Regions from separate parts of the Homo sapiens genome. Here all the other regions are linked to region 2. Evidence: promoter capture Hi-C in 16 types of primary human blood cells and fetal thymus (Javierre and others, 2016). All regions are on one chromosome and are shown on one strand. Each heading gives the region's core, a stretch centred on a gene start or on the middle of the fragment in contact. The rest is flanking DNA. Distances are from core to core; before and after follow the strand shown. Region 1 has its middle 190 kb from the start of CYP26A1. Region 2 holds the start of CYP26A1 (cytochrome P450 family 26 subfamily A member 1). Region 3 has its middle 160 kb from the start of CYP26A1.

What was found. The method cuts DNA at HindIII sites, captures the fragments that hold promoters and counts their contacts. A CHiCAGO score of 5 or more calls a contact.
Region 1: a fragment that was not itself captured here is called in contact with the fragment with the promoter of CYP26A1 in region 2 in 3 of 17 cell types (M1 macrophages, M2 macrophages and M0 macrophages); the score reaches 8.2 in M1 macrophages.
Region 3: a contact is called between a fragment that was not itself captured here and the fragment with the promoter of CYP26A1 in region 2, in 1 of 17 cell types (M2 macrophages). The highest score is 7.0, in M2 macrophages.

Annotation. Positions count from the first base shown.
Region 1 is chr10:93,263,048-93,268,080 of GRCh38, reverse strand. No RefSeq gene overlaps it. Among named protein-coding and RNA genes, the nearest start is that of CYP26A1, 190 kb to the right of the region's middle. RefSeq lists a silencer at 469-518. The HindIII fragment of the contact is 2,839 bases long and covers 1,581-4,419 here.
Region 2 is chr10:93,071,718-93,076,317 of GRCh38, reverse strand. It overlaps CYP26A1 (cytochrome P450 family 26 subfamily A member 1), which reads right to left and starts at 2,425. Exons shown (of 7, transcript NM_000783.4): 1 at 2,195-2,425; 2 at 1,786-2,010; 3 at 1,249-1,539; 4 at 1,011-1,169; 5 at 358-492. The coding sequence starts at 2,383. The HindIII fragment of the contact is 6,992 bases long and covers 1-4,600 here.
Region 3 is chr10:93,232,558-93,237,550 of GRCh38, reverse strand. No RefSeq gene overlaps it. Among named protein-coding and RNA genes, the nearest start is that of CYP26A1, 160 kb to the right of the region's middle. The HindIII fragment of the contact is 2,898 bases long and covers 2,126-4,993 here.

The DNA.
Region 1 (5,033 bases), core at 1,751-4,250, 190 kb before region 2:
TTCCCTGGAAGGCAGGAGATAGGGGACAGTAAACATCATTTTCAAAGCTTTCCTGGCCTCTCTATAAGGTTGGTGGCTGCTGGAATATAAAGAATGAAAGATAAAATGGGCCAGGCATTTTTTTCACTGAAGAAATCTGATAGGGATATAAGAGAAAGGTACTCTTCCTAGAGCTGCAAGAAGCTCTTGAATCCCACGAAAGGGTGTCTGATGCCAAATACAGACAGAACTGGTTCACATGTCAGTGCTTCATTGACTGGCTGGGTGACCTTGGGCAAATTGTTTCAGTTCTTTGAGTTTCAGTTTCTCCATTAGCAAAATGAGGATAATAACCATAACACCCACGTTGTGGTGAAGGTTTAGAGAGAACGAAATGACCTAAAATCCATTCAGTGTATGACAGCTAATAGTGCTACCTGTCATTTTATAGAAAGAGGAACTGAAATCCAGACAGTCAATATAAGGTGCCCAAGGCCATCCAGGAAGGACTGGCTGATGAGCAGTCAGGAGATAATGTGGATTTTCTTGTTTTAATTTCTCAGGGATTCAGTTTCCTCATCTATAAAATGGGAATAATATATATTCTCGATACCTTATCTGAAACACTTGGAGCCAGGTTTTCAAATTCTAGAAGGAACAGTCTGAATACCATACCTCTAGCAGGGTTTAGGGCAGTACCCAGTAATCAAACACATTACCATTTCTGCAGCAAAATGTCAGAGTATTTATATTAGGCGGGAAAAATAAAGACTATATATAGCTTCATGTTGGTTCAGGTTAGATTTCGCTACAAGAAGAATTTGGGTTTTTAGAGCTTTGGAATTTCAGATTGTGGACCTGTGATACCTACTTCAAGTTGTTTGGAGGATTCTACACCAAGTGACCAGTATGGCGGGGAGTGGGACTCATGTTAAAGTTTACTATTATTATCAGCTAGTCTAGTGATTTGACACAGGGCTAAAAGCTGCTAAGTCACCAAGACTATCTAGGCAGGATGCTACATCTCAGAAAGCCTCAAGAGGATGTCTACTGTATGTACTTTGAGTATACCACGCCCTTCCTGCAGGGCTGGGGAAGAGATGAGAAGGGACAATTTTCTGTGAAGACGTCCCATACTATCAGGCTGAACCATGAGCACTTGAAGCGCTCCCCTAAAGTACCACTGGGGTCCTATTGGGCAGGTCCTGGTTCTGGAGCCTCTGGAAACTGGGCTGAAGGTCATTTCAATTGGGGAACAAGAAGATGATGCTCTAAACCAGGGGTTGGCGCCTCAGAGACCTGGAAAGTAATATAAAGGAACAAAGGGGCCCAGATGTGGCCTATGGCAAGTGGAAAAACACCTGCCCATCCCAAAGGGCAGATGACACCAACTTAAAGTTGTTGGTTGCCATATAATAATTTAAGCCTTGTACTGACTAATATTTTGATTTTTAAAGAGACGTTAACATCTGAAATACGTGAAATGTCCTGACTTTTACCTATTGGCTACTCATATTTTTAAATGCTGTGCAAACCCAACAAAACACATCTGTAGACCTCCGATCTAAATAATTGTAGTGAGTGTAATTTAATTGAAAGCTTACTACGTGTCCGGCAGTGCCCTACAAGTGCTACATGTGTTACATTTAGTGGTACAACAACCCTATGAAGGAGGAACTGTTATTGGTGTTTTACAAAGCAGGAAAACTGAAACTCAGATGACATTAGATATAAAATGGTTACTGTCCTACAGGTCAGTAAAACTGATCTTTGCACTCTCATTTCTACAAATAGAAATAATTTACATCTCTACTAGAAACATCCACAAGCAACTTGTCGATCTTCTACAAGTGAATGCCCAACGTTACAGAGTCTGAACGTTAAGCAATAATGTCTTAGCTCAGGCTGCCGCAACAAAGTACCAAGACTAGGTGGTTTAAAATATATAAATTAACTTGTTCACAGTTGTAGAGGCTTGACATCCAAGATCCAGGTTCTGGCTGGTTTGGCTTCTGGTGAGAGCCCTCTTTGTGGCTTGCAGAGGGCCACCTTCTCACAGTGTCCTCACCTGGCCTTTCTTCAGTGTGTTCAAGCTGGTGTCTCTTATAAGGACACTAATCCTATCACATCAGAGTCTCACTCTTATGACCTCATCTAATCTTAATTGCTTTCTTAGACACCCCATCTCTAAATACAGCCACACTGGGGGTTAAGGCTTCAATATACAAATTTGAGGAGGGACACAAACATTCAGTTCATATAAATAGTAAAGAGTAAGTGAAGCAAAATAATAATTCCAAGAGCACAAGATGATCTCTAAGTGAGCTTCTTGGACAGTTCTCTAGTATGTCATTGAAACAAGGACACACAACAATGTCTTTGCTTTATTTCCAAATTTTGGATAATTTTTCTGAATAAGTACTTGGAAAGCAAATTTTATTAAGCTATCACTTGACAACTCAGGAAAGCTGAAAGCCTGTCTTGTTCACATGAAAATAAGCTCAGCAGTGACAATTGTCAAAGAAACACCAGCAAAACTTTTCCACTGATTTTCCTTTAAAAAATATTTTTCATATCAGTGATAAAACATTTTTGCCGTTATAGGCCAGGCACGGTGGCTCACGGCTATAATCCCAGGACTTTGGGAGGCTGAGGCAGGTGGATCACGAGGTCAGGAGATGAAGACCATCCTGGCTAACATGATTAAATGCCATCTCTACTAAAAATACAAAAAATTAGCTGGGCGTGGTGGCATGCACCTGTAGTCCCAGCTACTCAGGAGGCTAAGGCAGGAGAATCGCTTGAACTCGGGAGGCTAAGGCAGGTGGAGGTTGCAGTGAGCCAAGATAGTGCCGCTGCACTCCAGCCTGGGCGACAGAGTGAGACTCCATATCAAAAAAAAAAATTGTCACTATAATAGGACGACAAATGATTTTCAGTTTCAGGGGACTGAAGAATCTAGTCTTCCCCTAAGATCCCAGGATAGGTTCACAAAGTGTGACTATCTGAAATTGAAGGAAGGAGAGTGACAAACGTAGATGAGATAGGCTGGGCGCGGTGGCTCATGCCTGTAATCCCAGCACTTTGGGAGGCTGAGGCAGGCAGATCATGAGGTCAGGAGATCGAGACCATCCTGGTTAACACGGTGAAACCCTGTCTCTACTAAAAATATAAAAAATTAGCTGGGCATGGTGGCAGGTGCCTGTAGTCCCAGCTACTCGGGAGGCTGAGGCAGGAGAATGGCGGGGAGGCGGAGCTTGCAGTGAGTGAGGCAAGATCAGGCCACTGCACTCCAGCCTGGGCAACAGAATGAAACTCCGTCTCAAAAAAAAAAAAATGTAGATGAGATAATCTATCCCTCCCTCACCCCGTCAAGACTGTGAGCTCAATAAGGACAGGAACTGTCCTCACTGATTTCCAATCAGTGAGCCATTTCCATATTCACTAACTGAACTCCTACATGGTGGAAGCTCAATAAATGTTTGATAGAGGGATGGAAGAAGGGAGGGATAGATGAAGGGAGAGATGGATAAATGGATGGATGAATGGATGGTAATTAATTGAATGAGTGCTTAGGGTGGCTCTTGACTCAGTTTTCCTCTGCTATAAGGACACAGTAGGAACATTTTCTGGGTTTGCCAAGCATAGCTTGGACAGTTTGGGGAATTTGGATTCAGTTATTGTCCTCATAATTTTCATGAATTTAGCTTCTCTTTCAGTGGTTACATTTTCATTGGTGTTCCCTTTTTATAACTTTTTTTTTTTTTTTTAGAGGCATCATCTTGCTATATTGCCCAGTCTGGACTCAAACTCCTGGGCTAAAGAGATCCTCCCATCTCAGCCTCCCAAGTAGCTGGGACTACAGGCATGTGCCACTGCACCCAGCGATGCTTCCATTTTAGGCTCACTGTAGGCCTCTTGCTAAGATTTGCGCAGTCCCCTAGCATTTCTTAAGAACATATCACTGTGTCAGGCATTGTGCTATGGCCTCTTAAATATGTGATTCTATTTAATCCTCCCAATAACTCTGTGAGGTAGATGCTATTGATCCCATTTTAAAGACATGAAAATTGGTACCCACAGCTAGTAAATGGAGATCAGACTCAGGGGCTGGGTGCGGTGGCTCATGCCTGTAATCCCAGCACTTTGGGAGGCCTAGGTTGGCAGATCACTTGTGGCCAGGAGTTCAAGACCATCCTGGCCAACATAGTGAAACCCCATCTCTACTAAAAATACAAAAATTAGTTGAGCATGGTGGCATGCACTTGTAATCCCAGCTACTCGGGAGGCTGAGAGAGGAGAATCGCTCTTGAACCTGGGAGGTGGAAGTTGCAGTGAGCCAAGATTGAGCCACTGCACTCCAGCCTGGGTGACAGAGTGAGATTCTGTCTCAAAAAAAAAAAGGAAGAAAGAAAAAGAAAAAGAAATCAGACTCAAGCTTTCTTACTCTAAGTCTGATGTACTTTCTATTACTTAGCAGTTTGGGTGCTACAAATATTTCCTGAGAAGACTGCAACAGTTTTATAATTTGCATGAATTTATATTTATAAAATTATAATTATAAAATTAATAATTAACTATTATTAATTAAATGAATATTTGCTAAGCATTGAATATCATATTGCCAGGCCCTAGGGATAAAACAATGAACATGATTAACAGAGTTCCTGTCCTTATTGAGCTTACAGTCTTGATGGGTGAGGGAGGAATAGATTGTCTCATCTACTTTTGTCACTCTCCTTCCTTCAATTTCAGATAGTCACATTTTATGAACCTATCCTGGGATCTTAGGGGAATACTGTAGATTCTTCAGTCCCCTGAAACTGAAATATGGGCAATTTTGCCAAGGAAGAAAAAGGGCAGGGTCATGACCAGAGCCCCTTAGACAACTGAGGATGCAATTTCCTAGTGGCATTGGTGTCAAGTGCCTCTAGTGCTGGACTAGGCCAGGATCCTCTATGCAAGAGAAAGGGACCTCCCAGGATATTTCCTTCCTAAACACAGACTGTCTTCCTGGGATCCACTGGAATTCTTTTTGCCTCATTGAAGGGCTC
Region 2 (4,600 bases), core at 1,176-3,675:
CACGCCCCCCCACCCCACACTCACCACCACCACCCACACTAATCAGCTATTCACACTATGTATGCCCTTGGACACACCAATTCAAGAAAGTGGAACCTATCTGAGAATCTCCACGGTTCAGCAAAAGGTGGAGGAGGGGTAGGAATACAAGGTCAAACCCTGCCCAAGTGGGCTCACAGCTCAAGACTCCATCCTGTTTATTCACAAAGCTAATTCTGCCCACTGGCCCACGCAGCCCTGGGCCCTGCACTTTCAAAATACTCCATGAAGGCAGCACACTGACTTATTCGGAAGTTGGCTAGGGAGCAGCTGAATTTCCTAAGCTAATAAGGACACCCCCAGACCCAGTCTCCCTACCTTACTCTTCAGCTCTTCTCGCACTTTCTGGAGAACATGTGGGTAGAGCCCCAGGTAAGTGATCAGAGATGTGGCTGCACTGGCCGTGGTTTCGTGTCCTCCAAAGAGGAGTTCGGTTGAAGATTGCTTTAGTGCCTAAGAATAGAGTGAGACCCACATTCTCACAAGTCTGCCTGCGGTTTGACAGAAGGATTACTCAGAATCGAACTGAGAGTTCTGGAGGGAAGACTAGAAGGGCTAAATGTTTTGCTGACAGAAAGTCAAGGAAAGCAATATCTTTAAACAAAATGCAACGTCCCTTTAGTTCAGCTGGAGCAGTAAGGCGAGTACGACCCCGCTCTACCGGAAACTCCTGAGTTAAAGTCTTAGTTTTATTAAAATCGCAAGGTTCTTTATTAACATTTTTGCAAATTCCAACTTTCCCTTTGAAACCTGGAAAGGCTAGGGGATGCTCCCAGTTCCGCCGCAGCCCCTTCCGCAGCTCTCCTGACCGGGTGTCTCAGCCTTCCTTCGGGATTCCATAGCTGTAGTCTGAGCCGGCCGCCCACTCCAGAAAGCTGGGCCCCAGGCGCGCGCTTTGGGGGCCCCAGGAACAGCGCTTGGAAAGCCAGGGGACCAAACTCCGCAGTGCCTGGTCTGAAGCTGCTACTCACCTGCATGTCCAGCCGCTCTCCCCTCTCCCACGAGTGCTCGATCAACAGCTGCAGCGCGTCTTTGCAGCCCTGGCCCGCCTCGGATGCCCGCAGCCCGCAGATCTTGGCGCGAATGTTCTGCTCGATGCGCGCGTGAATGAGGTTCCGCGCCTTCATGCCCTGAGCGCAGAGAGCGCGCGGCGGTGAGCAGACGCCCAGGTCCCGCGCCCCTAGTCCGCAGCCCGTTTGCCGCCCTTACCCGGTACAGCCCGCTGAAGGGCACGTCGATGGGCAGCGAGAAGAGATTGCGGGTCATTTCCTCGAAGGCCTCCACAAGCTGCTGCTCGGAGTCCCCGTCGCCCGCCAGTTGGGGTTCGCAGCCCAGTAGGATGCGCATGGCGATTCGGAACATGAGGCGCTTCACCTCGGGGTAGACCAGGAGGCCGCGCTCGCCGCAGCTCAGCCACTGCTCCAGGCTGCTGCCCACTTCCTCGGTGATCACCGGCACGTAGCATTCGAGTGCCTCGCGGCTGAAGGCCCGCATAATCACCTGAGTCCCGAGGAGGGGACAGCGTTAAAAGCCTCCATCCGCCCCTCTCGTCTACCGCCGTCCCCTTCCAGACACCCCCAGTCCTGCCAGACACATGGCACTCTCCGAGCTGGGAAAGCTAACCTGGAGCTGGCAGAGGGTCCTAGCCCACCTCAAGCTGCTAGCCCGCGCCTAGCATCCATCAGCCGGAATTCCGCTCATAAATGGGGTCCCCCTCCCTGTCCAGCCGTCGCCTCCTGCCCCCACCTTCTTGCGCTGCTTGTGCGAGGAGTCGTGCAGGTTAGAGAGGCAGCCAGATCCCAGAATGGTGCGCACCGACGCTGGCCAGTGGACCGACACCAGCCGGTGCTCTCCGAGCAAGATGCGCCGCACATTGTCCGCGCCCATCACCCGTACGGTGGGCCGCCCGAACAGATGCGTCTTGTAGATGAAGCCGTATTTCCTGCGCTTCATCTGCAGGAACTTCCTCCGCTGTGGGAGGAAGGCGGAGGAGAGAAGTGGGCATGAGGGGGCGCCGGGGAGCGCCGCGCTCCCGCCAGCCCTGCTCCTAGCCGCAATAGCATGCCTCCCGGGGGCGCCTACCCCGACTTCAGCAGAAGCCCAGAGCCGCGCCGGGCTCCGGGGAAGCAGCCTGTCCCGCCCCACCCTCCCTTACCTGCAGTACCATCTGCAAGGTTTCCCCAAAGAAGGGGAAGCCCATAGTCCCGGGGGGCAATGGGAGGGCACAACTGCGGTCGCGGCCGCTCACGCAGTACAGGTCCCAGAGCTTGATCGCAGCCAGGAAGAGCAGCAGCGGCAGCACGAAGGTGCAGAGCGCACTGGCCAGCAGCGCCGGGAGCCCCATGGCGCGCCGCGACCTCCCGCGCCACCTGCCGCCGCCGCCAGCGCTTCAAACCCCACGGCGCTGCCGCTTTATAGGCGGCCCAGGTTGCTGCCCACGTTACCTTGGTCAGACAATTAGTTCACCCAAAGTTCATCTTTAATTGCGGATTGGGCCCCTGGCTCCTCCCCCCGCGAGGCGCTGCCCAAAATCTTTAACCGTTTGTTCCGCGCCGAGGCAGAGGCGGCGCGGTGGCGGCTTCCCTCCGAGCGCGCCTCCTGGGGTGCGGGGCTAGGAGCTGCCCGCCTCCCCCATCCAAGGTGTGCTGAGCTCCGAGGCGGCGGTGGGGGAGGGCCAGGACTCCGAGGAGCCGGAATTCCAAGCTCTAGCCTTCCCGGCGGTCTCTTTGGAATCCCTCCCGCCCGGTCCCACCCGCTGCCCCGGCCCAAAGCAGCCTTCACTGGCTTTCCATTTCCAGGTGCCGGGTGGGCTCTCTTCCACGTGATGAGGAAGCAAGGGAAAGTCCTTTCAGGAATCGTCCAGCTGCCTCCTCCCACGTGTGGGGAAACTGAGGTCCAAGAGAGATGCATAAAGCAGGCCTCCAGACGTCTCCGAAGGATCGCGCAGAAGAACTCAGGGCCAGAGTCCAAGAGAGAGCCTCGGGGCATCGGGCGCAATAGGCAGATCTGGGATCCCCAGCTCCCCAACCCCTGCAAGGGGGCCAGGACTCATGAAGTCTTAGAAGGTCCTACTTCAGGATACAAGAAGGCCTCCAGGTCCCTCAGGTCCCCAGGTGCTACCCTGCACAAGCCTGATCCCCGACCCTGGGGCACTTCGTCTGGGGCTCGGCAGTCGGTGCCCGTCTCTGAGATCCAAGCACAGCTCGCCTATTCGGAGGGCCCTGCTGCTTGGCGCCCCAGCTGGACAGCAGGGAAGGGGGTCCTTAGCCCTGGCAGGATAAAGAGACGGTATAAGAGGAAGGGGAGCCCAGGAGTCCTGGCTCCGAGGCCCGGCTCCATCTGTACTGCGTGTGACCTTGGGCAAGTCACCACACATCACTGTGCCTGTTTCCTCCTCCTTAACCGGGAGGCGATCATTCCCGACCTGTCTAAGCCTCAGGGTAGTGAGTTCCCAAAAGGGGGCTCCGGTTGCAACTACTCTTCCCAGCTCCAGGCACGGTAGACTGCGTTACCTGGGTGTCCGGTACACCGGGCACTGGAGTCCTCCTCCTCTCTCCCAAGTCCCACCCAGAGTAAAGCCACTGTCCTCATCCAGGTGAGGGGGTGCTCGGCCCTAAACTCAGGGCTCTACCGACCCCTAATGGGAGGGGTGAAGGGATCCGTACTGGGAAGTCTTCTGTACTTTGCCCATCTACAATCAGCTGCTACTGAGCTGCCAATGCCCGGAGCTCAGACGCTGCGGGACGCGCACCTGCTCTCTCTGCTCTCCACCTGCCGGAGCTTCCCGGCTCGGGACCAGTCAGGGTCACACGCTACCTGGGTTTGGGCGCTGAACGCACCTGCGGCGCCGAAAATGAAACAGAATGACCTGCATTTGTTTAAAACTGAACACTGTCTCTGGCAGAAGCACGCCGCACGCCTTGGAAGGCGTCCCTTGGAGGTGGAAAACTCTGCTCCTGAGAGTTTAAATGCGTTGCCCTTCTCGCGGTAGTCCCCAAACCCGGAGGTATCAGGAAATATCTGCAGAGGTCGGAGGGACCCGCACAATCCTAGCGACTCTCCAAGCCAGAGTCGCCGCCACAGGGAGTGTTTCGGGGGGTCAGCGTTTCCCCATAACCTGCCCAGTGTTTCAGAGGCTCTGGGCAGGGTTTCAGTCTCCGGCAAACGATTTGGTGGCTGTAAACACGGCGAACCAACCTCTGGCCACTGCAGGAAGCCAGGCCAATCGCGCTGGAGGTAATTCTCAGAAATCCCGGGTCCGCCCCTTTCTGGACAGCGCCTCCGGCCGGTGTGCAAAGCCGACGAATGGGGACGTGACCTGGGGCCCATTCCCAATCCTCGGGCCTGACCCGCCTGTGACCCCTGCAGGCCGGACCGTGACATCCGAGTGAACTCTGCGGGGCCACCTCGCCAAGTTCAGCTCAAGCCGGGTCACAAGATGAGCGGGGCCTGCACGCTGGAAATTGCCGCAGGGAAAAAAACGTTTTAATCTATCTGTACATCGAGGCCGGCGGGGGCGTCCGGCAGGAAAGGATTAAATGTGAGAGTGAACGATCATTAA
Region 3 (4,993 bases), core at 2,325-4,824, 160 kb before region 2:
GTTTCATTCTTGTTGCCCAGGCTGGAGTGCAATGGTGCGATCTTGGCTCACCACAACCTCCGCCTCCCAGGTTCAAGTGATTCTCCTGCCTCAACCTCCCAAGTAGCTGGGATTACAGGCATGCGCCACCACACCCAGCTAATTTTGTATTTTTAGTAGAAACAGGAGTTTCTCCATGTTGGTCAGGCTGGTCTTGAACTCCTGACCTCAGGTGATCCTCCCACCTTGGCCTCCCAAAGTGCTGGGATTACAGGCGTGAGCCATGGTGCCTGGCCCTTAAATACCCATTTTTAAGTGCAGTTGCAAGCTAACAATTTTATGGTATTTTTCTGTATGAGGTTGGTTTATTTGTTTGTTTGTTTAATTTGTAGTTCACCTCAATCTGGCAAAATCTGAAAGCAAAAGAAGTCATTCCCATTATCATGAAGTCCTACTTACTGTTGACTTTTAAAGATGAACAGACACTGAAAGCATTCATTTTGGGGAAAAGACCCAAGGAAGAAATAAAGGGGAAAAAATTCCAAAACTTATTAGGTATATTTTTGCCACAAAGAGCTTGTCCTAAATTTCCTGAGTTAGCCTTCTTACTTCACTCATGCTTGATTTTTATTATCTTCACAGATACCTAAAAACAAAGTAATGTTTGAACCAAACAGAGATAAGCTGGAGAGACTAGACTCAGTCATTGGTTTAGACCCATCTCTGACACTTCCCAGACACGTGTCAAAGCTTTCTGGAGCTCACAGCTCCCCACCTCTAAAATGGCAAGAGAAGAAAACTAGACAGTGGCTAGCTAGTTTCTTTTGAGCACTAATCGTCTCTGATTCCAGACTTCTAGCATCCACAGATATATTTGGTGCTTTGGTGTATTTCTAGAACCAGACAGTTTCCTTCCCACATGGCAGAAACAAAGCTCTCAGAAGCCAGGGGAGACAGGGTTTGGGCCGTGCTGAGACCCTGCCAGCCTGGCACAGGCAGGCTCTGTCTGGAAGGCACCCAGACCACATTCCTGATCCAAATACCCAGTGTCTGTGACATTTGAAAGTACCTTTCCAACCTCAAGACTCAAGCTGTGGCTCGATTATTTAATGCACTCAGAAGCAGTTAAGTATTACTTACCTTGCAGCCTTTGAATCTTAGCAGAAGAGGTTTACCATTATATGACTAGATTGAGCAAGGAAAAGTTTCCTCCTGTTTCTTAAGTGTGTCTATATTTTAATTCTCTATTTTTAAGTGGAGATACACCTAGAGTAGGAAAGTTGCTTAAAGGTCACCTGTCCTGTGGTTTCAATACCCATTTCCAAATTAGAGGTACCTGGGCATTTTCCTAAAAATATGGATTCCAGGGCCCACTTCAGATTGACTAGGTCAGAAACTGAGGGTGTTGGACCCAGCAATCTGTGGTTTAACCAGCCCTGCAAGTGATTCTGATGAGCGGCTGGGTTTAGGATACACTGCCATGGACCTCCTTTTAGAATTATGGAAACATTTCTGTGGGAAGCAGCACTCTGTGTAATGAAGATTTGATTTCTAGAAACTCACTTTAGAGGAAGCACTTGGGATAGCATGAGAAATCCACATTCCAGGACACGTCATGAGGCTCGGTCACTCAAGGTCAGTTTCCTCACCCCACCAGGTCCCAAGAGGATGAGAGGAGTCAACCAGAGGCAACTGGTACTCGGACTCTGAACTCTTGGAAGCTCAGATCCTTTATCTGTTCCCAGGAAGTGTGCCTGTCAGAGTCTATTGACACTGACCAAGCTGTGAACCTGGGCTCAAATGGATTGTGTTGAACCATCTCTGTGATGGTTAATATTGAGTGTCAACTTGATTGGATTGAAGGGTGCAAGGTATTAATCTTGGGTGTGTCTGTGAGGGTATTGCCAAAGGACATTAACATTTGAGTCAGTGGGCTGGGGAAAAGAGACCCACCCTTAATCTGGTGGGCACAATCTAATCAGCTGCCAGTGAATATAAAGCAGGCAGAAAATCGTGAAAAGGCAAGACTGGCTTAGACTCCCAGCCTACATCTTTCTCCCATGCTGGATGTTTCCTGCCTTCAAACATCGGACTCCAGAGTTCTTCAGTTCTGAGACTCAGACTGGTTCTCCTTGCTCCTCAAGCTTGCAGACGCCTATTGTGGGACATTGTGATCATGTAAGTTAATATTTAATAAACTCATATATATATATACACATACATACATGTGTGTATACATATACACACATATATATATTAGTTCTGTTCCTTTAGGGAACCCTAATACAGATTTTGGTACCAGGAGTGGTTCTAGAGGAACAGAATTCATAATTTTTTTCTTTTTTTTTTTTTGGAGACAGAGTTTTGCTCTTTCACCCAGGCTGGAGTGAAGTGGTGCAATCTCGGCTCACTGCAACCTCTGCCCCCTGGATTCAAGCGATTCTCCTACTTCAGCTTCCCGAGTAGCTGGGATTATAGGTGCCTGCTGCCATGCCTGGCTAATTTTTGTATTTTTAGTAGAGATGAGGTTTCATCATGTTGACCAGGCTGGTCTCGAACTCCTGACCTCAGGTGATCCACCTGCCTTGGCCTCCCAAAGTGCTAGGATTACAGGTGTGAGCCACTGCACTCAGCCAGGAACAGAATATTAAGGATGGAGTTCTTTTGTTGGTTTTGGGGTTTCTGGAGTTGGCTGCTTAATATGATTAGACCCAAAAATGCTAAGGACTCTACTTCTAATAGTATGGAGAACACTGATAGTCCTTGGCATGAACTGTTTAGAGAGTTATGTAAAATAAATGCATTTGACACTCCTGATTCACTGTTCATGAGATGCAAGGAGTTCCTTAACTCTATATATAATACTTTTGACCATATGTGGAGAACCAAGGAACATAATGAAGCTGGTTGGTTGCTCCTAAGTTCACTGGACAAAGTGATGAGAGAAAATGATGAACTCAGGGATTCTGTCTTCTGGCTTCAGAAGCAGATACTGAGCCTCAAATCTTCTAAGATTGCCCTGAGTGAGAGTCTTATCTCCTGTAGAGAAAGAGCTGAAATTGTGGAGAAACAGACACAAGCTCTTATCATGTGAGTGGCTGACCTGCGATGAAAGGTGCATGCACCTCACCGGTGTCTACTGTTAAAGTGAGGGCATTGATTAGAAAAGAATGAGACCCTGTAACCTGGAATGGGGATGTGTGGGAGGACCCTGATGAAGCTGGGAACACTAAGTTTGTAAGCTCTGATGAAACTTTCTTGCCAGAAGGAAGAGCTTCACCATCCCCAGTAGTGGCAACATCCCCTCCCTGACCCATGCTGCCATCAGCCTTTCCACCTTTGTCTGAGAAGACAAAACTCTGCACTGTCTGAGGCAACAGTGATGGCCTCCATGGAGGCAGTTGCCAGGCAAAATAATGTTGATTCTCCTCAGGAGCCACCCTCAACACCTCTGTTTGCTTCCAGACCTATAACTAGACTAAAGTCCTGGCAGGCACCTAGAGGTGAGGTTGAGAGCATGATCCATGAGGAGGTTCACTACTCTTAAAAAGAACTGCTTGAGTTCTCTAATTTATATAAACAGAAATCTGGAGAACAGTCACGGGAATGGATATTAAGGGTATGGGATAATGGTGGAAGGAACATAGAGTTGGATCAGGCTGAATTTATTGATTTGGACCCACTAAGTAGGGACTCTGCATTTAATGTTGCAGCTTGGGGAATTAAAAAAGGTTCTAATCGTTTATTTGCTTGGTTAGCTGAAATATGGATTAAAAGATGGCCCACTGTGAGCAAGCTGGAAATGCCTGATCTTTCTTGGTTTAATGTAGAGGAAGGGATCTAAAGGCTTAGGGAGAGTGGGATGGTGGAGTGGATTAGTCACTTTAGACCTACTCATCCCAGGTAGGAGGGTCCAGAAGATATACCCTTGACCAATGCCTTGTGAAATAGATTTGTGAGGCAAGTACCTACATGTTTGAAGAGCCCTATAATTTCTCTTCTCTGTATGTCAGATCTAACAGTAGGAACCATAGTCACTCAACTACAAAATTTAAATACGATGGGAATAATTTGATCCCGACGTGGCAGGGGCCAAGTGGCAGCAGTCAACCGTCAAAGGCAAGGTGGGTGTAGCTACCATAATGAACAGCAGAGACAAAGCACCAATCAGAATAGTCTGACTCATGTAGAGCTCTGGCATTGGCTAATTAATCATAGTGTTCCTAGAAATGAAGTTGATAGGAAGCCTACTGCATTCATACTTAATTTATACAAGCAGAAAACTTCTAGCTTGAATGGACAAAAGACTAATTTGAATTACAAAAACGGAGAATCATGGTCCCTCAATCAATTTCCAGACTTGAGCCAGTTTATAGACCCAGAACTCCTTGAATGAAGGGGAGGCTGGATCCCCTTGAGGAAGGGCCTCACTACATTACCGACAATTTGTGCAGTGAACCTTTCTCCCATCTTTCCCCAAAGACACCTCTGGCCTTTTACTGGGGTAACTGTGCATTGGGAAAAGGGAAATGATCAGACATTTCAGAGATTATGGAACACTGCCTCTGAGCTGATGTTGACTCCAGGGGACCCAAAACATCACTGTGATCCTCCAATTAAAGTAGGGACTTATGGAGGTCAGGTAATTAATGGAGTTTTAGCTCAGGTCTGACTTACAGTGGGTCCCCACAGTCATCCTGTAGTAATTTCCCCAATGCCAGAATGCATAATTGGCATAGACACACTTAGCAGCTGGCAGAATCCCTACACTGGCTTCCCTAACTGGTAGGGTGATGGCTATTATGGTGGGAGAGGCCAAGTGGAAGCCATTAGAGCTGTCTCTACCTAAAGAAATAGTAAATCAAAAACAATATCACATCCCTGGGGGGATTGTGGAGATTAGTGCCACCATCAGGGACGTGAAAGATGCAGGGGTGGTGATTCCTACCACATCCCCATTCAACTCTCCCATTTGGCCTGCCTCAAACTGACCGAGCTGTGAACCAGATGGATC